Linked DNA regions of Homo sapiens: regions 2 and 3 are each linked to region 1. The links are contacts of gene promoters, found by promoter capture Hi-C in blood cells and fetal thymus (Javierre and others, 2016). All regions are on one chromosome and are shown on one strand. The core of a region is centred on a gene start or on the middle of the fragment in contact, and the rest is flanking DNA. Distances in the headings are between cores, read along the strand shown.

The links. Contacts are between HindIII fragments. The CHiCAGO score rates a contact against its expected background, and 5 or more counts as called.
Region 2: a contact is called between a fragment that was not itself captured here and the fragment with the promoter of FBP2 in region 1, in 1 of 17 cell types (monocytes). The highest score is 5.2, in monocytes.
Region 3: a fragment that was not itself captured here is called in contact with the fragment with the promoter of FBP2 in region 1 in 1 of 17 cell types (M0 macrophages); the score reaches 5.8 in M0 macrophages.

What each region holds. Positions count from the first base shown.
Region 1 is chr9:94,592,002-94,596,179 of GRCh38, forward strand. FBP2 (fructose-bisphosphatase 2) reads right to left here and starts at 1,823. Exons shown (of 7, transcript NM_003837.4): 1 at 1,556-1,823. The coding sequence starts at 1,725. The HindIII fragment of the contact is 4,350 bases long and covers 1,458-4,178 here.
Region 2 is chr9:95,168,685-95,171,830 of GRCh38, forward strand. FANCC (FA complementation group C) reads right to left here. Exons shown (of 15, transcript NM_000136.3): 6 at 2,395-2,459. Among named protein-coding and RNA genes, the nearest start is that of MIR3074, 84 kb to the left of the region's middle. The HindIII fragment of the contact is 3,108 bases long and covers 1-2,804 here.
Region 3 is chr9:95,142,732-95,146,909 of GRCh38, forward strand. All of the region lies in intron 7 of FANCC (FA complementation group C), which reads right to left. It also overlaps a transcript of AOPEP not described here. Among named protein-coding and RNA genes, the nearest start is that of MIR3074, 59 kb to the left of the region's middle. The HindIII fragment of the contact is 1,694 bases long and covers 956-2,649 here.

The DNA.
Region 1 (4,178 bases), core at 573-3,072:
CAGAGGGGGAGCCCAATTTATGTGGATGAATCACCCTGAGATGGACTCAGGCAACCGCATTGAGGATAGCAGGGTCCGCACAGGGAGAGGCAAAGTCCCTGTCTACCGTCACTCAGCAGGGCTGTCACCCACAGGAGCAGAACAGGGCACCGCCTGCCCTCACATTCTGGAAGGCGATTAAATGCAGAGCGTGGCTGTTATTGCCAAATGAGGTAAAAACAGAGCTGAAGCATCCACCCACAGGAAAAAAGCAAGGATAATGCACCGTTAACCTGGGTCCTGCTACTGGGTCACCACCCCTAAATAAATACAGTCTGTGGTGATCAAATGATAATTACATCTTGTAATCTAATGCTATCACTTTTTGTGTTAAAAGCACTTAATTGCTCAGAGTAAATATTTTAAATGATTGGACTTTGTTAGCTCCTCATTTTGAGTCTCTTTCATCCCCAAAATATGTGTTCCTTCAGCTCCTGAGAGGACCTCCCCTGGAATTACTACAAGGGAAGCCCAAAGAAAGCTGGGGTTTTGTTTGTTTGTTTGTATGTTTTGAGATGGAATCTCGTCCTGTCACCCAGGCTGGAGTGCAGTGGTACGATCTCGACTCACCGCAACCTCCATCTCCCAGGTTCAAGCGATTCTCCTGCCTCAGCCTCCCGAGTAGCCGGGACTACAGGCGCCCGCCACCACACCCAACTAATTTTTGTATTTTTAGTAGAGACAGGGTTTCAACATGTTGGCCAGGATGGTCTTGATCTCTTGACCTCATGATCCACCCACCTTGGCCTCCCAAAGTGCCAGGATTACAGACAGGAGCCACCGTGCCTGGCCACCGGATTCTTTTTATTACAGACTTAAACTGGACACTGGGCTGTGACCATCAGCAGTGTAATGTGAACCTGGCCTCATCTATGCTCGGATAAAGCACCAAAGAGAACCCTGTGGAAGAAACCTCTGCGCTCCCCTCCCAGGACTAGCACCTCCCGGCTTCCTGCACACCAAGTGGAGGTGAAGATAAAGAAAGAGTCACAGAGAAGAAATAAAACACGTAGCCAGCAAAACACTCCTTTAGATGATGAGAGAGCAGATGCAGGAAGGGGCTCTACCAAGCTTCCTATGTCGTACATAATTTCCAGCTCCTAACATATTTGCAAAGCTTATTACAATAAAACACTCATGTCTGCAAGAGGCATAAAGAGATATTTCACGTCACCCCTCTACTTCTTTGTTCCAGTGAGACTCTCTCTGTGCAAGTACAAGTCATGATAACACAATACATATTTTAATGCAACAAGCCACTGCACTTGGTATCATTATAATAACTGGAAAAATTATATGTGTATTTCTTCATAGCATGTTTTCGTTCCTTTCTCAAAACAAGTCAAAGGCCCCTTTATCAAAGCACACATGATAGGAACTTGAAATGCAGCTTCCATCTAGGGCACACAGGGCCAATAAGCTTTGGACCCAGTTTCTTGCCAAAGCACCTGCAGCTCCCACACCCCTGCCTGGGCCTGGGGTGCTCTGTGCCCCATGCCTGCTCCCCAGGACTCACAGGTGGGCCAGACCGGCCTTGCGCACAGCCGAGGAGATGGCTTTGATGGCCGTCAGCATTGAGTTCAGCAGCTGGGTGAGCTCCCCAGTCCCTTTGGCCTGACGCCCCTTTTCCATAACGTAGCGGGTCAGGGTGAGCATGTCGGTTTCGAAGGGGCTTCTGTCCGTCATTTTGGCTGGAATGCTTCAAATCCTTTTCTCCCGGCAGGAAACCTTGCTTACTTCTGAGGGCTGCAGCTCCGCAGTGTGGAAGCCGATAAGAAATCTGTGCTGGCCCTGCCAGGATCTCTAAGGAAAAGGGCCCAAAACACATGACTCAAACAACTGCTGGGGCCCTCAAGGAACTCCCTCTGGCCTCGGGGACTGTGGCAGCTGCCAGGGAGCCGCAGCAGTCTGTAAATAGGACGGGCTGCCCAGAAACATGGAGCTGCTTTCTCCTGCTGAGCACCCCCTTTCAAGATACCAAGAAGCCACCATTTAGGCACAGGTGGGAGGTGAGAAATCCAGTTGATTAAAAAATGATGCATAAAACCCTCTTATTCCAGGCTCCAAAGGATTCTTCACATATAGTGACTGCAGGGCCTGGCTCTCCCGAGGGCGGAGGTGGCAGATTCGCAGGTTCCTTATCTGGGACGTAGGTCACATAGTAACATAATGGCAACCCCAGAATTCCTTTAGCCAGGGTTTGGAATAAGTTAGGAAAGAATGCTTTTTATTTCCAGTAGGCATGTATGACCAGTGGATATCCACAGTAGAGATCCAGATCCGGAAGAAAACTATTATATTCCTAGCACAGTTCCTGGCACCAGTGTTATTTTGTCAATATCTCTGGATGTCCACTTTTGTAACAAAAATTGCTTGTTAAAAAGGAAACACTAAAGAAGTGGATAAAGACAAACCTCCTCACCACCAGCCCATTCTCCCATCCCACTCTCCAGAAATCACTGCTGCTAGGGCTGGTGGCGGTCTGTGCAGCCAGTAGGCACTGGTGGGGTGCATATGGTGGTGGAAGCACTTTCTCTAGGGCCAGCCAGACCTGGCTGTGAGTCCCAAGCTAGCTATCTGTTGGTTGCATGATTTGAGAAAGTTATTAAACCCCTTGGAACCTCAGTTGTCTCACTCTTAAATGAGCATAACCGTGAAGCATCCATCTTATAGAGTGGCTGCAATGAGATGTACCTAGTATAGTAGGTGCTCAGTACTTTGTTACCTATTATTGCCCTTCCAGTTTTTTTTTTTTTTTTTTTTTTTTTTTTTGAGATGGAGTCTCACTCTGTCGCCCAGGCTGGAGTGCAGTGGCGTGATCTCGGCTCACTGCAAGCTCCGCCTTCCAGGTTCACGCTATTCTCCTGCCTCAGCCTCCCGAGTAGCTGGGACTACAGGCGCCTGCCACGACGCTTGGCTAATTTTTTGTATTTTTAGTAGAGACGGGGTTTCACCGTGTTAGCCAGGATGGTCTCGATTTCCTGACCTCGTGATCCGCCCGCCTCGGCCTCCCAAAGTGCTGGGATTACAGGCGTGAGCCATCACGCCCAGCCGCCCTTCCAGTCTTTCAATGTGCTCACAACTATTGTGCAATCATACATAATCTCATTTCACAAAACAGTACAACATGCACATTTCTCTGAAGGTCTTTTCCCCTGACAGTTATGTCGATTAGAATGTGTTCAGCTGCAAGAAATAGAACAACTAGAGCAATTTACACGTGGGGGTTTATTTCCTCATAGACCAGGAGTGCACTAGGAGGTGGTGGCTGGTGTTCATTCAGCTGTTCTTGGTTCCACTGGGACCCCTCTCTGTCTCGTCTCTGTCATCCTTGGTCGGCTGGATTGTGCCCCTTGCTTGGCATCCTGGGGGCACAAAATGTCACTGCAGTTCTGAACATCTGGCCCACGTTGAAGATGCAAAGAGGGGAGCAAGGGCAGCTCCAACCACATCAGTTCCTTTTTATTAAGAAAGAACAGTTTCCCTGGAACCCATCCTCCCACCCCCGTAGACGTCCCTGTGCACAGCGTCTGCCAGATCAGGGTCGTGTGGTGATGCCTGCAGTGGGAGCTGGGCGCTGGCATTGGATCAACCAAACTGGTTGAGGAGGGCAACCAAATGGTTGAGATGGGCATTGGTGCTCACAATTTATGTGGAAACTTTCAGATAAAACTAACATCTACCAGTAGATCTTAATATGCAGGTTTAAGATCCCAAATATATATATATGTTATTTATATATGTTTTTAGTTCCAGAAAGCAAATATTATGGGAAGATGTCCAAGTCAGCACACAGAGGCTTGGATCATTCCAGCTTGCGGACATTCAGATAATTTAGGTAAGTTGGCTCCTCAAATAGTAATGCAACAAACATCCTTATATTGGGGCAAGTGCTTCAGTAAGATACAACCCCAGAAGAGGAACTGCTATGTGACAATGTTCTAATTCTTTTCGCGGGGGTGTGGGGGGGTCTATCTTCACTTACCAAGAAATATGCTACCTCTTAATAGAACAAATACAGGATCCCATACCCTTTTTGTGATTTTCATTCAATCTATTTCAACTTTCAACACTGAGGTGAATGGATAGATGGAGACAGATGACACCTCTATCTCAGTATGTGGCACACATTAATCCAC
Region 2 (3,146 bases), core at 1-2,500, 580 kb after region 1:
CACGCCCAGCTAATTTGTACTTTTAGTAGAGATGCGGTTTTGACATGTTGGCCAGGCTCGTCTTGAACTCCTGAAATCGGGTGATCTACCTACTTCAGCCTCCCAAAGTGCTGGGATTAAAGGCATGTGCCACCGCACCTGGCCTAAATTGTGTACTGTTCTGAGTAGCATGATGAAATCTCATGCTGTCCCACTCTGTCCCATCTGGAACATGAATCATCCCTTTACCCAGGGTATCCATAATATATACACTACCTGCTCGTTAGTCACTTAGTAGCCATACTGGTTGTCAGATCAACTGTCACAGTATCACTGTGCTTGTGTTCAAGTAACTCTTATTTTATTAATACTTAATAATGACCTCAAAGTCCAAGAGCACTGGGGCTGGCAATTTGGATATGCCACAGAGAAGTTGTAAAGTGCTTTCTTTAAGTGAAAAGGTGAAAGTTTTCAACTTAATAAGGAAAGAAAAAAATCATATGCTGAGGTTGCTGAGATCTATAGTAAAAACAAATCATCTATCTGTGAAATTGTAAAGAAGGAAAAAAATTTCTGTTAGTTTTGTCGTTGCATCTCACATGGCAAAAATTACAGCCATCATATATGATAAGTGCTTAGTTACGATGGAAAAGACATTAAAGTTGTGAGTGGAATACAGAAATGTGTTATGATTGGTGGCAATCAGGTTTGGTACTATCCACAGTTTCAGACATCCACTGGGTGTCTTGAAATATATTCCCTATAGATAAGGAGGGATTACTGTATGCGATTTCCTCATCAGTGCTCCCGGTCAGTAGAGACAGAAATCAGTTCCTCAGTCTGCTTCCTAAAAAGTGAGAATGTTGGATGCACATTCCACTCTTCTTTTTCCCTCCCAAGGAAGAGAAGCCACAAGCTGGGTTTTTCCTACCAATCTCACCAAGCTGCCAGACCTGGAAAAGGGCTATCACAGTTGACATGAAACAGATTGTTTAATCAATTTCAATGTGGCTATTCTAGACTTTGAGCTTGCCTGCAGTACTGTGACTTCTTAATTGGTTCTGTAGTTCTCACTATAATTTTTTGGGATGTATGCTGTAGTTAAGTCAATGTCTCTACTGGAAAATAAGGTCTAGGACTTCCTATTCTGCCATCTTGCTGATGTCATTCCTGAAGAACGCCTTTAATGTTATTATTAATTCAGTTTTCATCTTCTAGTAATGACCTGCTTATATTCCTTGCTCATTTCTATAACGGAGTGTTTGCCTCTTTATGATTTATTTTTGCAAGTCATTTCTATATTTTGCATTCTGATCCTTTGTTTCTATTTGTTAACAGATTTTAAAAATTATTTTGTTTATTGTCAGCTGCTTTTTAAAAAATCAACTGTGATGCATATTTTGGGAGTTTGGTGTAGGGAGTACATACACACTGCACTGACTGATTTTTAAGGTCTTTTTGAATAAATTTATAATTACATAATTCAAAAGATCCATCAGTCAACATTCACCTCACAACCAAATCCAAGTCTTTACCTGACATGTAAATAAATAAATCTAAACACTCTCCATGTCTCCTATGGTTCTTCTTACATTGCCAAATCCAACATAATGAAGATTATCTCCAATGTTTTCCTCTAATAATTATATAGTTTAAGGGTTAGGTGCAAAGGATTCCTAAAGGTTGAGGACAAAGACAATTTCTGATAGAGCTTGAATTAGCAATAGCTTTACAAAAAAAAAAAAAAATCACCAAGTCCCTCAGTCCCAGATTCTCTTGGTTAATGATATGTCAAAAATGAAATGCCCACCAATGAAAACTGAGATTCTTTTACAGAGTGAAGAAACATTTGTAATGTGATTAATTGCCTTTTAATTTGTCTGAATCTCTTTGATTTGTTTAGTCTAGATTTTGGAATATCATGTTTCTTAAAATAGGGCATATGTTCACATCAAATGTTGCCTTGTAAATATCGTGTGTGTGTGTGTGTGTGTGTGTGTGTGTGTGTGTGTGTGTTGGGAGCAGAAGAAGGCAGAGCCAGGGCAGGCTAGTGTGAGAGCATACACTTGCATCTGTGCACATTCTCCTCTTGCAGAGTGAGCAATCCCAGGGTAAAACTAAGTACTGCTCTTTCTTTTATGCTCCCTACTGTGTATGTAGGGCTTTCTACCTAATGGGCCCACAAAAGACATTGTATGATTTACTTACTGCTCTGTGAGAGTTGAGAAAATAGTGATTTTTAAAAGAGTTTGAAAAAACTCACCAATTTGCTATGTATTCCACTAAAATAATCTTTCTATATAAAATACAACCATAACTGAACATCCATTTCCTATGAATTGTAAAATTTTCCTCTCATAACCAAACTGATACATTTTGAAACCTGAGAAGAAGGATGTTTAGTTTAACACCTACCGCCTTTGAGTGTTAAATCCATTAAGATGATTCTCTCTGAGTTCAGACGCTAATGATAAAACCATCTGTAAAACAAAATCAGTTGCAGGTTAACTCACGCTGCAAACAGGATTACATCAGTTCTATTTTTCTTGGTGTGAGTGATATTTCCGTTGAGATTCCCCCAACCCCCATCTTCTCATGTTTCACTCTGTCAGAGTGAAAAGGAAGCAGTGCCATGTCACATTTACTAATAATTGGGATTTTATGTTTAATGTCTATAATTCTGCATTCCTATTTAAGCAATGAACAATAGACAGGTCATTAATTTCCTAAGAATTAAAACCAAATCCATTTAAAGAAAAGTTAGTTTACTTCTTCATTTAAAATTCAGTTCATTTGAAAAAAAAAAAAAAGTTGTTATTGTACAAAGCTTCCAAAACACCGGAATGGTTAACAAACATTAAAAAATCTCATAACATTTTTTAGAAGAGTTACATCAAGTTTGTAAGTTAAAATTTCTCACATTTGGCTATAATTTAAGCCAGAAGAAAACAATGCTTTAATATTAAGAGGTAAATATTTAAAACTATGTACTGAATTTTCTGTTTTGCTTTAACAGAAAATTCCAATCAGGTTATTTGAAATACAAGATTCTTTCAACAGTACAAGACTGTGTTTATAATAGCTAAGAACAGCTCTTCTCCCAAACATCTCTGAGTGAATAAGTGAGATGTGTCCCTAGAAAGAGAGGCTGATTGGTTGGTTTAGGA
Region 3 (4,178 bases), core at 553-3,052, 550 kb after region 1:
TGGCCACCCTATTTAACACTCAGAGCCACCCCGAGCTGCGAGTGTTAGAGTGGTCAGAGACTCGTATGTCAGTCACTCCCACTACTTAGAAGCTGTTTTTACTCACAGAGCACTTCTCACACTCACTGTGTGGATTTTCTTCCTCCACACAAACCAATGCTCCCAACTCTCTAGACACCAACTGGGTGTCCAGTGATTCAATTCTGACACCATCTGGCATTAGCACACACCCCACAGGTTAAGGGCTCAGTCCCACAAGACTGCCCCCACTTCAGATGCCAATCACAGGTCTAGGCCTCTCATTCTTCTGACCAACTAGCTATAAAATCAGAGGTTCCAATGATCCTCTCTTCAGGTTTGATAATTTGCTAGAATGGCTCACAGAACTCAGGAAGACACTTTACTTGCCATTACCAATTTATTCTGAAAGATACAATTCAGGAACAGCCACATGGAAGAGATGCATGGGGCCAGGCCTGGGGGAAAGTTCTGAGCTTCCAGGCCCTCTCCAGGCACGTCACCTTCCCAGCACCTGGATGTGACCACCAATCTGGAAGCTATTTGAACCCCACAGTTTAGGTTTTTTATGGAGGTCTCACAATGTAAGCACGACTGATTAAATCGCTGGCCAGTAGTGATCAGGTCGAACTCTGGGGGTCAGGTGTGGTTGGTTCCTTTGGCTACCAGCCCCCATCCCGAGGCTATCTGGGGGCCCACCAGGAGTCACTTCATTAGCCTACACTCAGGTGTGGTGAAAAGGGACTTATGAATAATAAAAGATGCTCTTCTCACCTCATCACTCAGGAAATTTCAAGGGTTTTAGGAGCCTGGATGAAGACCAAATGCACATTTCTTATTATATCACGAGATCACCGTCATGCCTTCATTCTTTTTTTCACTTGTTCAGTGTCTCATTCATTCAGGCATATAGAACAAATTCTCCATCCAGTCTTCAAGCTTCTCAGTATTTTTGAAGCAGTGGATTCGGATGACCTCAGAGGACATGTCATGCTGTATTACTTATACTCCAGACTTACAAAAGGACCTCAGCAGCCCGCCCAGGAAGGTTTTATGCCGTCTTTAGCCTGCAGGTGCCTATGACGGCAGCCCCAGGGACAGACATGAAAAGTTGACATTTAGGCCAAGAAATTTAAAAGTTCCTCTAGGTTATCTAAACCATAAAGAGGGGCAAGCATCTGCTGTTTAAAAGACAGGCAGACCACTGCTGAAAATATATGACTGCATTTGGAAGCCAAGACCAAAGACACCAGCCAATTGTCAAACAGATGAAATTCCACTGGTGTACTGTGGTAAGCAAATAGTTGGAAGGCTAAACACGGGTTAGAGTGCATTGGTCAAAGAAAGCATGTGGTTTCCAAATGACCACGCAGCACATCTGGGGAGGGGGGGCTGGGCGCGGCTGGTAATTTGCACTGATTGATTGGATCAGCCTCGCTGTGTCAACATGTGGCTGGGATGTTCCGCCTACGGGAAAGTGTCCATGGAGAGGCTCCAGCTCTTACGCCACTGCTTGGGGAACTTGCTGAGCTGAAGCCACAGGATTTGGACACACTGAAGACCACCCAGCACTTCTGGACAGTCTGTCCCTTATGGATTAGCAGACATAACTTTCCAAACCAAATAAATTTTATGAGTTGTTGAGGGAGAACATGCTATCACAAGCAAAATTACAAGCAAGGGAGTGTGGGCCTGCTTGGGGAGCCGCTGCCCTCAGCGTCCCTCTGAGCACTGTGCTAGAGCAGGAGTAGCTGTTCTCTGGGCACGTCGCCTGGCCAGTGATTTCTCAAACAGCTTTTGGGGTTTCACAGAAGACCAGGAGTATTCACTTCCAGATTCCCTTTAATTCAGCTCTTGCTGAAAGAGTAAGGCTAGACACGGGGGTGGCTGAGACCATATTCTCCTGTGAAATATATTCCTAGATGAATCAAGAAGGGAGCTGCCACAGTGAAAGGCAAGAGCATTTTAGTTAAATATTCTTTGTAAGTATTTTGAAAAATCGCCGTGGAGAGTAAAAATGCCAGTTGGTGTGATCAGTGGTGGGGCCGTGAAGCGTGTGCTCCATTGCGGGTGTTGGGCACTGTAAGGAAAGAATCGAGCGCCGCGCCGCACGTTCACAACGCCCTTTACTCAGTATCTCACATAAGGACCAAACATAACGCTCGGACTCCTCAGAAAGCTCACTCCACTTACTGGGTGAATTTTGACAGAAGGTTTAAGAGTAGGTAGAAAAAAGGCCATTTTATTTTTTTAGCCATGAAACCTGCATTTTGACCATTTTTCGAATCAAGTGACTTAATCTTCTAATTCTCTTTTTAAATCTCACTTTCACAAAATCCTGGATTATAACCTTTCATATAAACTGAAATTAAAATATGTATCCTAATTTTTAAGAGTTATAGATTTAAAAAATGGAAATACTCTGAACTGTAAGAACAACGGTGGTTTTGAGCCTGTTTTGTTTTCCAAACGCAACAAACAACACAATGAAAATCTATTTGAAGATGGAGGAGAAGATCCATTTATGACAGTGAAAACATTGAAAACACAAATACAACAAAACATTAGGAACAAGAAATGTGTAAATCCAATGTGTGAAAAATATATACAACACTCCCTTCAGATCACAAAAGCTTAACAAATGGTAAAACGTATGTGTTCTTGAACAGGCGGACAGACAGCCTTAACATCATGAAAACGCCAGCTCTCTCGATAATCTATATACTTACAGGAGTCTTCCCCCAACAACACTGGGTGTCTTCCCTGCAACTAGAAAAATTGGTTTCAAAGTTTATGTGGAATATAAGACAAGCAATGATAGCAAAACAAACTAATAACAACCCTAGTAAAGAAGAGAAATCAAAGGGAATGATCCTTATTTTGTATTGAACACAGTTGATGCCAGCACTAAAGCAGTGATACTGCCGCACGCACATGCAAGAGACCAGAGAACCAGAACAGAAGGTAACAAAACAGGCCTGACTATGTGAGAACTGAGAATGTGACAAGGGAACCACCTAAGCCCACAGGACTGTGCTCCAGAGGCACGCACCCTTTATCACACTCAAGAGGGCGGACATGCTTTACCACCGGAGAACGGGGAAAACAACCGTATTATTTCAACAAATAATTTCAAAACAAAAAACAAAGAGGGATTGAAAGAGACTTAAAAGAACCATAAACCAAAGGCAATGTGTAGATCTGAACTCTGATTCTTTATTTTTTTTTATTTGAACTCTGATTCTAACAAACCAACTGGAAGAAAAATTCTAAGACAATCAGGATAATTTAATTCCTGACTAGATATGTGATGATGATAAGGAACTAATGTCAATTTTAAGATGTAATAATGGTATTGTAGTTTTGTTTTTTTAAAATGCATTGTATAGCAAGGAAGGGTCTACATATGTAACAATTCTCCAATTTCTCACTGAAAGTATTTAAATAAAGAATTGGGCCTGTCACAGTGGCTCATGCCTATAATCCCAACATTTTGGGAGGCCAAGACAGGCAGACTCCTTGAGCCCAGGAGTTCAAGACCAGCCTAGGCAACATGGTGAAATGCCGTCTCTACCGAAAATACAAAAAATTAGCCAGGCATGGTAGCACACACCTGTGGTCCCAGCTACTCAGGAGGCTGAGGTGGGAGGATCGCCTGAGCCTGGGAGTTTGAGACTACAGTGAGCCAAGACTGCACCACTGCACTCCAGCCTATGTGACAGAGTGAGACCCCATCTCAAAAAAAAAAAAAAAAAAAAAAAAATTGAAAACGTAAATAGTATTAATAAAATGATTTAAAAACCACAGTATTCTTAACAAAATGTCAAGTTTATAAGCAGTAAGTATCATTTTAAAATCACATTGCATGTATACCTTGAATTCGGAAATGTGAATGCTTTGGATCTCATTATCTGAGACGGAGAGGGCTCTGCAAATTATACCACACAGTGGATTCACAGTGTTTTCAAACACTGCAGACAGAGCCACTCGTAACTTGGAGTCATGACTACAGCAGTAGTCAGAGGCCATGCAACAATTTTCAAAGTGGGGTTCAAAGAACTGTTTCCAGAGAGGGAGGGAAGAACTGAGATGCGTTAAAAGAAAAAATCATTATTTAAAAAATTCTTACATTTTTCTTGGGCCTACGTGGAAACATAAGA